Linked DNA regions of Homo sapiens: all the other regions are linked to region 5. Evidence: promoter capture Hi-C in human tissues and cell types (Jung and others, 2019). All regions are on one chromosome and are shown on one strand. Each heading gives the region's core, a stretch centred on a gene start or on the middle of the fragment in contact. The rest is flanking DNA. Distances are from core to core; before and after follow the strand shown.

What was found. The method cuts DNA at HindIII sites, captures the fragments that hold promoters and counts their contacts. A contact is called where the count stands out against the background at its distance.
Region 1: a contact is called between a fragment that was not itself captured here and the fragment with the promoter of MPDZ in region 5, in 3 of the 25 tissues and cell types used here (dorsolateral prefrontal cortex, hippocampus and thymus).
Region 2: a contact is called between a fragment that was not itself captured here and the fragment with the promoter of MPDZ in region 5, in 1 of the 25 tissues and cell types used here (heart left ventricle).
Region 3: a contact is called between a fragment that was not itself captured here and the fragment with the promoter of MPDZ in region 5, in 2 of the 25 tissues and cell types used here (dorsolateral prefrontal cortex and hippocampus).
Region 4: a contact is called between a fragment that was not itself captured here and the fragment with the promoter of MPDZ in region 5, in 3 of the 25 tissues and cell types used here (IMR-90 fibroblasts, dorsolateral prefrontal cortex and hippocampus).

The regions. Positions count from the first base shown.
Region 1 is chr9:14,300,958-14,303,766 of GRCh38, reverse strand. The region is part of intron 2 of NFIB (nuclear factor I B); the gene reads left to right. Among named protein-coding and RNA genes, the nearest start is that of NFIB, 12 kb to the left of the region's middle. The HindIII fragment of the contact is 6,370 bases long and covers 1-2,809 here.
Region 2 is chr9:14,408,370-14,411,069 of GRCh38, reverse strand. It overlaps a transcript of NFIB not described here. Among named protein-coding and RNA genes, the nearest start is that of TRH-GTG1-6, 24 kb to the left of the region's middle. The HindIII fragment of the contact is 5,394 bases long and covers 1-2,700 here.
Region 3 is chr9:14,325,077-14,328,025 of GRCh38, reverse strand. The region is part of intron 1 of NFIB-AS1 (NFIB antisense RNA 1); the gene reads right to left. It also overlaps a transcript of NFIB not described here. Among named protein-coding and RNA genes, the nearest start is that of NFIB-AS1, 9.5 kb to the right of the region's middle. The HindIII fragment of the contact is 3,094 bases long and covers 1-2,949 here.
Region 4 is chr9:14,341,955-14,344,765 of GRCh38, reverse strand. The region is part of intron 1 of NFIB-AS1 (NFIB antisense RNA 1); the gene reads right to left. It also overlaps a transcript of NFIB not described here. Among named protein-coding and RNA genes, the nearest start is that of NFIB-AS1, 26 kb to the right of the region's middle. The HindIII fragment of the contact is 4,467 bases long and covers 1-2,811 here.
Region 5 is chr9:13,278,238-13,280,969 of GRCh38, reverse strand. It overlaps MPDZ (multiple PDZ domain crumbs cell polarity complex component), which reads left to right and starts at 1,278. Exons shown (of 47, transcript NM_001378778.1): 1 at 1,278-1,570. RefSeq lists enhancers at 1,655-2,370, 2,371-2,732. The HindIII fragment of the contact is 5,465 bases long and covers 1-2,732 here.

The DNA of each region.
Region 1 (2,809 bases), core at 129-2,628, 1.0 Mb before region 5:
AAAAAAAGGCAGACACTGTGTTTGATGCCAATAATGGTTGCCAGTGGCACCGAGGTTGGCATCAGACCCTCTTTGTCTAGTTGCTGAATGCCTTTGATTCGTTGGTTGGCATCCGCATTGCAGTGGGCACACTGGAAAGTTTTTGACAATCCCTGAATGAAAGCTGCTTGCTTGTTTGCTGCAGCAAATCTTAGCTAATATAAAACTCTTCCTTTTTTTAGGTTTTGTCTAAAAAAACTGGGACAGATTAAAGAAAAAATAGCTCTAAATGGTATCTATTTTCCCAAAGATATTAAAGACGTCCAATGATTCTTGGGCAGGTGTTACCTATTCCCCATATTGCCTTTGTTACTGCATTCATGAAAGCAAAGCAAAAACAAAACCAAACAAAAACCAGGCAAGCCTTGCACAGCACAGCTTCCTGGGATGTAAGTGTCCTATAGGATGCAGGGTGTGCTATGACAAGTGTGTGGAGGACAAACCTAACGTAATGATATGTGATGCATTCATTATGACTGACTGTTGCTCTCAGTCACATCACTGCTTATTTGCTATGCAATTTCTAGTTCCCTCACTTGCCACTCTTGCAAATTTTATAGTAACATTTTGAGAGGACTTCAGTTTTCCTCTCTAGTTAGAAATGTGTAACAGAATACATGTTTAAAAAGAGAGAGAGAAAACTTTAAAGAGGAGACCTATGCGTTAAGGTCTGAGGTAAAATCAGTCATTCTGGAATTTCTCGATTCTGCACCACACTGTTACGAAATTCTCAGTGCACAATTTTGTACACTGGGAAAATCAACCAAAAGCCTAAAATAATTTTGGTTAAAGTTTCCTAGATAGTTAGCGTTAATATTGCTTTTCAGTTAACCACCGTTATCTCGTTAATTAATAAGAAGGATTAGCAGTTCTACCCAAAGGGCTGCACAGAAGGAAGTCTGGCCTATGGGAGGCCTTGAGTTGCCAGACTGTGTCCTGTCTGAAGGGGAAAAAAGGAAGGGGGTGGTGGTGGTGGTGGGAGTCGGGGGGCGGGAGTGGGATTGGCCTTTCTCTGAGGCAGGAAAGCGTTTTGAAGAGAGAGGTCACAACACACCAAGACATTTAAAGATCTCAAGAGATAGCAACTGTTGTCGTGTATGTAACAGATTAGAGTTTAAAATGAGTCACCCTAACTGATTTTTGGACTGTACTTTGCACTCTTATTAAACATGTTTTGGAGTGTTAAAGAGAGCCCAGAAACCTCATTGCTATCCTGAAAAAGTAGTTTCCTTTAGCCTTGTTGAACCCTTAAAATTATGATCTCTTGTTGGGTGGCCACTTTTGTTGCTTTATTGTTAAATGTTATAATAATTGAAGTACATTTTGAAGTTGTGAAAAATGTGACTTATTTACAGGGGAAGTCATAATCATTATTACTGTTTTTGAAATAGAAGCCTTCCTGGTTGTCACATATCATTAGTGAGGAAGCAAATGCTAAGAATTATTTTCTTCCTACAGTTACTGAATTTCAGAATCCTTTTGGGTAACAATTATTTCTTTATGAAAAGCTTAAGTAGATAATTGTTTGCAAGTTGGCAGTGTATTTTAACATTTTAATAGATTTCACTTCATCTGCAGGTATTTCCCATTATGGGAAAAAATAAGCTTTCATAATTGATTAAAATGAGGCTGCTCTCTAGGATGATTTGGTGTGTCTGCACTGTGAAATGCTCTGGGAACATAAGAGTTTGTGTGTAGGAGAAATACTTGGTATGCATGTTTGATTTAGGGGAGCACTGTTAAGTTTTCCCATCTAGCAACTTGTCCTTGACTGAACTTGTGAACTCTAGTGCACATTTGTTTGCATTCTGGCTCATACACAATTCACAAGATAAAGAAGGGCTCTTATTGGCATGTCTTGCTCCTAGGCTTAATGAGACCTTTGTGGGAACATATATTGTGAGATAAGATACTTAGCAATTTTCTCACTGATAAGAAAACACAGTCTCCCACCAGAAGTTCACCCTCTATGCCATGAGGTCTCTGCCACAAGATAGCTTTAACAGACAATTTAAGAGTTAAACTCTGAGGCCCCAGTTGCCAGCTGGGGAAGCTTGGCATCTGTGTTCCGATATGGCAAACTAAGCTCTTGCATTGCAGTTAATATGATCTCATTTTTCAAAGGGAAGGGTGGGGGGAGAGAAGGAGAGAGGGAGGGAGGGATGGGACGCTTATTTGTTACATCAATTATGATTTTCAAATATTTAAAAATATATAGTGCCCCACTTTCTGGAGGCAGCAAAGGTTGGTAAAATATTCTACTGACAGCATTAGGCATCCTTCCCCCCACCCTGTATATACAGCACTACAAATTTTGTAATGAAAAATAGTTAGATTATGTATTTGGATTTACAGATTTAGTGCACAATGTCTCTTGTGTGGTAAAATAATTCCAAATATCTCCATATTTGTAAGAACCAAAATAATATGCATTGTTCGAGAATCGTGGTAATTGGAGAGGACTGTGCATTGCAGTGACAGGAGTGACGGTCAGGTCTCCTGAAGAATGCCTTCCTGATAGGCACAGTTATAGTGCCTGTGCCTGGAGACTTAAAGCTGGGTAGGAGCCATTGAGAGAGGCCATCTATTGCTACAGCTTTAGTTCTTTAAAGTTACTGTTTTCTAAGGTGGTACCTAAGAAGCACTTCCAAACATGAAGATTCGTAATAGATTTGGTAGGATTTTTCATTTACTTACTTGTTTTTCCCTAAATTTGGAATTTAGGAAGAAGCTGTCATAAGGAAGTTAAAGTTGTAATCCTCCATTAACT
Region 2 (2,700 bases), core at 67-2,566, 1.1 Mb before region 5:
ATTTGACTTTTTACTTACCACTAATTGAGATTTTTTTAAAGCATCAATTGTGGGGTTTGGTAAAAATTGACATATTTCTTCCAAGGGAAAATATACTGACCTTTGCAAGGTGTCAAAGGTAACAGAACTCTGACAATAGACTAATCTCAGAGACTGATTATCTTTAACATTTATATTCCCTGTATCAATAGAAATGAGAAGGAAATGAATGAGTCTGAATTTTAAATTCATCATTTTCTGTGTGCATTTGTGGTCTGGGTCTTTGGTCACTGAGCCAAGCACTGTAGACCCCAGAGCACAGGAGAGACCTCATGTTTAGGAAAGTGGGAGTTGTTTCGTGTCAAAACTAGTGGCAAAAGGAGTATGATGCTCCCAGGAGAGCAGGAAAGCATCTATCAGAAGACTCAAGTGTACTTTCTCTCTGCTCATAACCTTCAACCTCTTTGTTTTCTCTGAATCACTCTCAACTTTCTTCCACCACAATCTAAGGCAAGGCTGATTTTAAAGTACTTTTTCATTTCCCTTTTATTTTTAGGAGGTTACCAGAGGCAAAGGTAATCATGCTCTGATGAACTGTAACTCTTCCCAAATCTCCTAACCTCTTCTACCTTATGCATAGTAGTTTACTCTGCCCTTTGCATTAATATTAGGCCCTTTCCAATAAATGATTCAAAATGTAAGACAATTGATACACGGTATAACAGAGCCCAACAGTAGGACTCAGACAACTGAAATATTGGCTACAGTGGGGCAAAATATGAAAATATGGAGCTATGAAGTAAAATGCAAAGATTGCAAACATATAACAATATCCAGAATCTGCTTGGTCATTTGGAAAATGATTTTTTTTGGAAAAGTTTTTTTTTTTTTTGGAAAATAGTAGGTATCAAGAAAGAAACTCAGAGAAGGGTAGGATTGTCTCATGTCACTTACTGTATTTTGATGCATGGCTGAATTTTAAATGTTAAAATGACTTAACACGGTTACAGACTTTAGAAACCTGCCCCTCACCCCCTATATCCCTAGAGCACATAAAAGACATTCCTGTTAAAGATACAAGTGTATATGAAAAGGCTAGTAGTACTAAAGTTTGGGTGATAAACTTATCTGTGTTTCCAAATCATAATATTGAACATTCATTCTTTTGCTTTAGCAACAGGTTTTAACATCAATTTTTCATATCCTAAATCCCTAATTAGTTCTTTTCTTAACCATCTGTTCTTTTAATTGTTTATAATACCTTCTCTTATCAGACTGAAGATATTAATTATACTTCAAGTCCAATTCTATTTTAACTGGTTTCTTGAGATATAAGTTCTTTTCTTTGTGTGATTGCTGTTTGTCTTCCTCCTTCCCAACTATGTTGTTGGAGTAGAGGAAGAAGCTACTTAACTTTTCTTTCTACTTTTTCAGCAAAAGTGGGGAAAGGTGAGCTGTGTCATAGACAGTATTCTAGTGGCTGGCCTTCGGAGTGTTGCCGCTCCCCTTTCCTCATGGGGCACTGCCCTGTCTTCTCTAACCCTAGAAGTACTCCCTTCAAAGAAAGAGCCGTCTGTTGCTGCTGCCTGGGCCAGGGGTGAAGGATGGCATGGGCAGGCATTAGCATTCCTGGATATCCTACTGTAGAACTGCAATCCAGCCGTGTGGCTGGTTGTTTGTGAACCCTCCCCTGCTCCTAACACCCTTCATCTCTAGACAGGGAGCACCAGCTCTGTGCTGAGGCTGGCTTGCACCTGCTCATAAGAACAGATAGTTCAATTTTCAGGAAATTTGCCAGCCAGTTGTTAAACAGCCATTATTAAAAATTAAATTATATAAGCTTATAATTAAATAAATTATATGAAAAGCAAGCTAATAAATACTCAAAACTCATCACTTCCTAGTTATTTGGCTATATGTTATTATTATTCATGTTCTCGAGGTTATTTATCCATGATGGAAATGTTTACAGCATGCATGTCAACAAACACTAAAAATCTGGGCTTCTTCCCCACCACAGAACCAGTTTTTAAACATGTACCAGTATATCACTAGGCATACACTTCTGTAACTTCTCAATTTCTTGGCAGTACTTAAACCAGACTGGCTGGGTTTAAACCCAGATTTTGCCATTTACTGGCTATGTAACTTGGGCACATCATTTAACTTCTCTGTGCCTCAGTTTTATCACCTGCAAAATAGGGATAATATAGCAACTATTTCACAGGGTTGCTATGAGGATTAAAAAAATGATATTTATGAAGCACTTTTAAAAAATGCCTGAAACCTAATAAGTACTGTGTATTTGCTAAATAAAATAAAATAAAAATTATTCTAAGAACCACTTTTCCCCTCTGATTCTATTGTAATTTTTTCTTATCTCTCAAAATCTTTTCTACTCTTTTTCCACACTAATAAAACATCCAACTTTCGTTGTACCCATGACCATTCAAAATAAAGATAAGATTTCTCAGCCTCCCATGAATAAATTGGGATCAAGTGATATAAACAGATGCATCATGTAATCACATCCAGAAATTAATCTTCAAGTGACAGTTGGCAAATTCCCTTTGTCCCCTTTTTTTCTGTATTCCCGCCTCCATTGTGGTCTCTGAAACTTGGGTGTGATGGCTAGAATTCTACTCACCATATGGTACCATGGGGAAGAAAGTCATACCCTAGGGATAATGGAAATCTGAACATACAAATATGAAAAGAACT
Region 3 (2,949 bases), core at 165-2,664, 1.0 Mb before region 5:
CAAAAAGTTGGTAAAAGAAAGCAGTACTGGTTGGGTGCTAGGTAAATTCTATGTGCCTGAATTTTTCCATCTACCACTGCTCCCTTCTCTCTTCTTCTGTTTACAAAAATATTTCTCACATCATGAACCATAGTGGTATCAAAATTTTCCCAACTTTGTTTGTTTGACTTTTGAATATATTATAGGAGGGTTTTGTTTTGGTTTGTTTTGTTTTAGTGGATGAAGTGGGATGAGAAGGGCAGCTGACTTATCATCCCTAATTACATTTTTCTTTGGTTTCTATATGAACACTATTTTCATTCTACAAGCCCACATCAGCTGCTTGCAAAGTGAGCAGAAAACCACAGGTTGTTATTTAGAGTTTATTTGAAGGTTTTCAAAACACCCCATGGGAAGGCTACTCTTTTCTAAACAAATTTGGAGGAAAATATTAGCACAACAGAATAGAAGGCCTTCATATCACGAATGCAGAGATCCTCAAAAACCTATCTATACTTGTATGGCAGCACCCAGCCCAAGGTCCAGACCCATGCTAAGCATGCAATGTGTGTTTGTAGTAGGAATGAATTCCTCCTCTACTCCCTGGGCTGCACCTACGATTTCTTACTTACGGAATATAGACACAAAATATAGTTATTGATCTTCTTTAAGTAAAAGGCAACTTGAAATGATATCAACATGTTCTAGATATGCCAACAGGAATCTGTGACACTGGGGACATTTGGCCACAGGATTTGAATATAGGGGAATTAACATTGACTTTCTTTTGAATGTGGCCTCACTGAGCAAAAGGCAGGATGGTCTTTTGCCAGGACTATACTGAAGGATCAGTAGACTGTCTAGCGCTTTCGTGCATCCTGTTGCCTCACTAATTTCTGGATTGCCAGATGCCTCTGTTTTTTGAAAATGGTTAAAAAAAAAATACCTTAGTAATTCTGTTGTTTCAGAAACCTTAATATGGCATAAAATATCCTGAAATTTTTTGCAGAAAACACTTGCTTTTTTATGCTCAATTTAATCATTATAGCTGAAATTGATTCCAATTTATTGTTTTCTTTTTAAGGGCATTTTGATGGTTGAAATTCTAAAGTTGCACAAAAGTGTGAGTAAGCAAGATAGGAAGATTAATTGCTCATAGTATTTTTATAAGTCTTAAAAACATAAATAGGCTAAGAAATCGTTGATACTTCAAACTGAGAATTCATAACAATTGCAATAAACATTATTTTTTAAAGCTAGAAGGCATCCTGGATTTACCACTGTTGAATCAGAGAGCAGATTTTTCACACATTGAGTCATAACTGCAGGCTTTTTTTTTTTTTTTTTTCTGTAAACCACTTTAACCTGCTCTTGAAAACCTCTGGTTGGTGCATGGAATAAGTCTGAGTCTGTCTCTATTTAGCTTGTGAAATTTAACAAGGCCATAGCCGGGGGTTGGTAAGGCTATGAGCCATACCACCATCTCAGGTTTTTGATGACACCACAAACCACTTGAGATTTATTATGTTAGAAGATGTCATCAGATCTATGTGTGCACAGGTGCAGCATGTAGTTAGTGAAAGAAGGAACACTGCATGTGTATATTTATTTTTGTACCCATACTCTCAATGGTTAGAAAATGACCCAGTGTGCCTGTCCTGGGCAGTGTGGTGTTTCAACTCCACTGCAGATGCCTATCTTGTAATTTCTTGAAGTCTTTTCCACAAATATAATTCTTTATGATGGGCGACTATGTCTTGTAGGAATGGTATCGCATTTGTTTTTACCATCAATATCTAAAGAAGAGGCATAATGAATTACAGCTGAAGAGTGCTATAACCAATGAATAATACAAATTATTACCATGACTTGTTATTTATGCCTGGGTTTTCCTCTTACAGGACAATACACTAGACATGCACTCTCCTCTCCTGAATAAAAGTAGTGCAGGGACAGCTCTCATCTAATGAAATCTGACAAAATGCCAACATTTGGCACTTTATAAATGTCCTAATTTAAGCCTCCCTATTTTTATATAATTAGGAAATATTTAAAACTATTGCCTGAGGCAATAAAAAATATGAATCTTTCCAAATTTATATTAAAAATACAATATGCATTTTAAATTCTAAAAATAGTTATCCAATTGTTTTAAAAGAATGTGTTTATATGTTCATATTCAAAAATACATTATGTATTTTTTAAATTCTAAAAATATTATTTTTCAATATCCAATTGTTTTAAAAGATGGTATATGTTTTATTTAGTATTGCATCCTAAATATGCCACTATCTTTATTACATACTTTAAATTTGCACAAATTCTGGTATAATAATGGACTAAATATAAAAATCTAATAAACCAGTGTGTACCCTTTAATAATATAAAAATCATAGAAATTAAAACACACTTTCTCTATTTTTGAGAAATAGAAAAGTAAGACAAAATAAACACCTTTGGGGTAATGACTCAAAATTACTGGTTTAGATGGGGTAGAGGAATTACTTCAATTATGATATAAAGCATTGTAATAATGCAAGCCTTTTAGAAATAATTATATAGTGATTATTCTCAAAGATAAATATACACAGATGTTGCTAGTACATTTTTAAAATTCTTAATTTGAAGACAACATACAGAAACTGCATTACCAGTTAATTGGCTTTAGGAAGAAGCAGAAAAATCTTAACTGCAAGTGTATTTGTGAAGCTTCTGGTAAGTTCTATGGAATGAATTGTGCCTGCAACTTAAGGCAGAAAAAAATGTCATTTAAAAACACTGGAATCACTCAGTTAGATGTGCCAGAGGCCCAAAATGCTTAACTAGTGTTGGACAGTGCTATTTTTAAAAAATGAATAATTATTTATAATTTATAACAAAAGATTAATATAAAAAGATACTGGACCTTAATTATATTCTTAGAAAGGCTTTCAACCAAGATAATTTTCATTTAAAAAGGAGCATCTATTT
Region 4 (2,811 bases), core at 277-2,776, 1.1 Mb before region 5:
TTGTCTTTCCTTTCTTTACCCTGCAGTCTTGGCAACCCTGTAGGAGGAGGTTCAGTGGGGAGGATGAAATCGACCCGTTTATTCTTGTTAATCACACACAAAACAGTATAAACACTGACTCTCAATTATTAATAGGATCCTTCTATTAAAAAAACCCAGTCATTTAGGTAGAACTGGTTAGGACTGAGAAATCGATAATACTGGTGAACTAGCTTATTCTGTCCCTTTAAGAAAAAATCCATAAAGCTCTTCCATCAGCCCAGTGTCTGGGAAAGAAGCAAACTAACTGCTTGGAACAAAAGAGACAAAGAGGCCAAACAACAAAACAAACAAACAACTCCCTCTACCCCCCCCTTCTGAGACAACAATAGACTAGACACAGCAAGTGCAGTTACTGCCTGGCCCGGCTGCTCCTGTCGACCTGCCAAGTCTCCCGCATTTGGCTGGAGACTTTCTCTCTCACCCCACTCTCGCACCCCCATCACCCCCCTCTCTCGGCCCTTTCTGTCTTTCTCTCTGTGTGACTCTCTCTGTGTGTGCCTCTCTTGGGGTCTGGCTATGTATGTGTGTGTCTGTCTCTGTTGTTTTTGCTTTCACTTGATGTCGCTCTGTCTCAGGCACCTTAGTGTTTCTCTCTCTCTCTCTCTCTCTCTCTCTTTCTCTCTCTCTCTCCCTCTCTTTAAAGGTCCTCAGCATATTAGCATACTCTGGCATTTATTTACTTATTTGCTAGGCCATTTCTGTAGCATCTCCTAACTGCCTCCTCAAAACTTCTGTTTCTTCCAGTTGTCACGGTGGCCTATTTTGTATTTTGTTTGCAGCACTCTCTGCCAGGAAGATGCTGAAGTCCATTTGCACTTCAGTTTTTAACCATTCTTCATGTTCAGTTCTTTGCTCTCTTTCTATAAGGTTTCTGGCACACTTCCCCCCCCGACCCCCCCTTGTCCCCAAGCAGCCCTTTCTCTGCTTCTTGGCACTGCTTGGGACTCTCATGCATGCCTGCCCTCTTTCTCTCACTCCCTCTCTCTTGTGGCCAGCCCCCTCCTCCCTGTCTCCCAATCCAGCCTTTTTCTTCCTTTTCCCTTCTCCACCAAACTTTAATAAAATACTGTACACACTTTTGCCTGGGGATTGCTTTTCTTTATAAAGTGAACCTAAACCTTTGTAAAGTGGGAAGGGAGGAAAGGCAAGAATCCAGACTGCAGCCAGCAGAGGCTGTAGCATGGAACCAGCATCCCTGCCAACAGCCACATCCCTTTCACACTTTTTTTTAATAAACCCTTTGTAATAGCAACTCCTTCTGAAGCATCTGTGTCTGCTACAGGGAAAACCTGGCCACGTCTCTCTACTGGGCTGCAAGGGTGAGGCTGAGTATCCAATAGGGAGGGCAGCTGCAGCCTCAGTCATAAGCACTCTCCCCCGCCCCAGCCCATTTCCACCTCCTCTTAGAGAAAAATGAGAAAGTAGGGGGTTCTCTGGCACCGGGGTAGAGGTCTTCAATTCCCCTTCAAGAGAAGTATAGCATGGTTACTTGAAACGAAACTTCTCCAAGGATGGTTGACTTACAGTAACAGGGGAAATTTCAACTGTCAGAAGATTGTGGGAAAAACAGGACTAAACTGTTTATCTAAAGCAGATCTGAGAATTCCCACAGTCAGGTGGTACAGGGTTGGCAAAATGGTGGCATCCCCTCGCCACCCACTCCCCTACCCCCCCGGCCATGCTCACTAGGCAACAGAAACAGGACAAATTATTTCCGTTGGCCTCACCCCCTTTTCTTTCCCTCCTTTCTTTAATAATATACAGACAAAAACATATGAAAACAACATAAGGGGCAACTCTGAAGGGAGAAAACTCATTTAGTCTGAGAAGAGTATGAAAAACAGAAATAGGAAATGTACCCTCATTGTTTGGTTGCTTGGTGATAAGGGCAGTATGAAGAAGCATCGATGTTATAAAACACACATATGCACATGCATATACACATGTGTATATGGATGCATATTTAGTTGGTAGTGACAACTTGTCAAGAGAGGAAGGGAGGAGTTTTAAAATCAGACACACATGGTTTGAATATAATTGGCCACTTATTAGCTAGGTGACTATGTGTAGCCCGCTACACCTTCCTCACAGTTGGGGTTCTCTTTAGAACTAAGTGGCATTGCATATATGAAAAAGCCAAAAGTAATGTCTGGCATGCAGCCTGGGTTCAATAAACGAGCCTTCCTTCCCTCTTTTTCTTTCTTCCTCCCTATTTCTTTTTTCTCTTCTTTCCTTTCTTCCTTCTTTCCTTCCCTTCCCTCCTCCCTGCCTCCCGTCTTCCTTCCTTCCTTCCTTCCTTCTCATTTCACTGGCTTTTCCCCTGATCTTTCCAAAGGTGTAAGCAAAGGGAATTCATGCCACTTGCCCCAGTTTTCAGTTCCTAAGGGAAACTTTGTTGCTCCTTGAGTCCCAGTAATGAAACACTGCAGACCCTATAGTAGTCTACTCTTTCTAAGCCAAATGCTGCCTGAAATAATTTGTTCTTGGGTGGGATTATTTGGCTCCATTATTCTACCCCCTTATCTAGGTTCTTTATTTTCAAATGGTTAATGAGAGAGACCCTTACCCATAATCCAGCCATGTATACGTTTTCACAGGCCCAGAGAGCTTTTGCTCTCGGGGACATATTAAAAATTGCCCCATGGCCAAAAAGCTTAAGAAGGGAGAAACAGAAAAGAGTATGTTCCAATGAACTATTGTCCTGACCCACAACTTCCCAATTGGGAATGCTGTTTTCTTGGTATTTTGACCTTGTCAAAATGACTGATT
Region 5 (2,732 bases), core at 29-2,528:
ATAAATGTAAGATTCTGTAGGTACGAGATCATAAGCTAGAAGTGAAAATGTATTTAGAGGTAAGAGTTAAAAGGAAAAGAGGGCCCGTAACTGATTTTTAAGGAATTCCAGCATCTAAAGATTGGGGGAGAGGAGGCAAAGAAGACTGAAGAGTGGCCTGGGGACAGGGGCAGATCTACCTGGAAATTGATGTAGCTTAACGTTCCGGGTCCTTCTCTTGCCTGGGAGCAACCCTAGCAATGTGTTTACATGGGCATTTATTTTTTGAATTTTTCTAAAGAAAGATTTTTTTTTTTTTTTTGGTTAAAGCAGAGCTCCCAATTGTACAAGCTTCAGAGCCCATACATCCGCCCTTGACTAAGCGGAAGAAGCAAAACCAAGAGTGTGATTGCATGGAATTACAAGAGGGGTGGGGTGGGGAGGACTCTAGGAAGAGAGAGGTCAACAGCTGTGAATGTGTTTGAAAGTCCAAGGAATATGAGAAAAAAGTATTTTTATTCAGAATATTAAAAGAAATTCTTTTAAATGTTCTAAATTGGACTTCTGAGTATCCTTTGGTCCTATAATCTAATATCAGAGGGATATTTTGAAAAAGAGTTTCTTATGCAGAAAAAAATTCGTGGGACTTCCAAATTGAGGATAACAGAAAGAAAATCTTAAGTGGCACAAAATAGAAATGAATATCTGTTCTTCCTGGGGCCATGCAACTCTAATAACTTTTCCATGTTTACTGTTTTTGCTTTTTAATTGGATCATCAGACTAAGAATGCACCCTGATGTGCGAAAAGTTACTTAGAAAGTGAGAGGACTGCCCCCACCCTTCTGATTAAAGCGCTTCTCATAAGCATCCTATGCCATTCAGTAAGCTACCCATGCAGAAAGCATCCACAGGGCAGTGCACATAAGGAAAATCTGAGGAGCTAGAAACAGGCTATCAGTTTCCGCAGGTTGACAAAATCGGCAGATAAAAATACAAGACTGCCATTAAATTTGAATTTCCGATAAACAACGAAGAACTTTTTAGCATAAGTACGTCCCAAATATTGCATGGGATATACTTGTACTAAAATTATTCCTTTTTTTTTTTATTTGAAATTCCCATTTAACAGAGCAGCCTATATTTTATCTGACCACCTCACAAGTCCACTACCCACACCCCAGGTCGAGCGGCCCAGGAGCGAGTTTAAAACCCCGCACAGGCCTGCTCGGCCGCGTCCCCTGATTGGCCAAGGCGCGCCCGCCGCCCCGCCGGTCGCAGGCGTCACGGCAGCCCCAGCAGCCTGGGCCCCGCCACCGCCTCCGCGGCAGCCCCGGTCGGCGCAAGTGCGGCGCGCGCTGGGGGAGGGGGCGCGGCGGAGCGCTAGGCTGGCGTCGGGCCACCGCGGGATTAAGTTTCTCAGTCACGCGTGAGTGTCTGTGCGTTTTGATCCGAAGCTCCTCGCCGGGTCGTTACTTCAGAAGAGAAGACAGTGAGCGTGGGCGAGGCGAGGCATCCAGAGGCCCCGGCGACCCCTGCTCCCCAGTCCTCCGCCCCCTCGCGTCGCGGCCCTGGGCGGGCGCCGCGAGCCGGGTAAGCGGCGCTTGAGCCCCGGCCCAGAGGCCGAGGCGCGCCCCCGCGCCCTGCGCGCGCGCCGGCGGGGAAGGTGCGCGGGCGCCCTGGGCTCGGCGCTTGGGGGTGGGGGTGGGGGCGGGGATGGGGGTGGGGGTGGGGGTGGGGGTAGGGGTGGCGGCGGGCCGTGGGGCGGTGGGGCGGTGCGCTTGCCCCACCCCGCGCGGCCCGGCGCTTCGCGGAAGCCGCTGCTGTGGCTTTTTTAAAAGGATGGGGTCTAGAAGTTTCCTTTGCTACTCGCAAGTCTCCACTCCCCCCAGCCCCGCGGTGGATAATCCTAGACCTTTCAGCACCCCCGCCACCCCTTTCTTTTGCTCTCGCTGACTAAGAGGTTTAAAAGTTTTTCCTTTTCCTTGACCCAGAGGGGCACAGTCTTGGTGTCGGGGGGCTGGGGGTGGGGTGTTAGCCTGGGGGCCCGGAGCGCAGACCAGGCCTCCAGGGCGCGGGAGCCTGTTGCTCTCCCCTGCAGGGGCCGCTCCCGGACGCCCCATCCGCCGTTACGTGGTCCCGGGATGTGCGGGTTGCGGTAGAGAGTGGGCAGCAATGCTCCTGGTCCTGCGTTCTCGCCTTAGCCGCGGGGACCCCGAGGCGAGCCGCTAATTGGTACCGGTGCCCCGTCCCTCACCCCTGGCACCGGCGCCCTTTTAACCGCCGCTCCCGTTGGTGGGAGCACGTTGGTCTTGTCTCTCCCTTAGTCTCCTCACCCCCCGCGCTGATGGGCGTCTTTGTCTGCGATTTGGCAGCCCCAGGATGCCGGATGTTACCAGGGAAGCGATGTTTGGGAGACGCTTTGTGTCTTGCGGAGTTGCGCGTTTGTTGGGTGGTGATGGTGTACATTTTTGTTTGCGTTCTTTGCAGAGGCACAAAGGCTGGGCTATTCTTGCCTGCAGTCACATGGAAATCAAGCGGAGACTGCGGGGGAGGAGAAGTGGCCAGGCGCCGGCGGGAGGTAGAGGCCGCTCCGTAGTCACTGGGGGCGAGTGGGGGCCCCTGGAGACCTCTACTGCGCGGTGCGGCTTTTGAGGTGCTCCGCTTGGGAAGACCCCGGCAATGGGCACTGACTGCCTTTTTGCAGTAGGGGCTGCGGTTGGAGGCTAGTGTTTCCTAGGTATCATCAGATAGA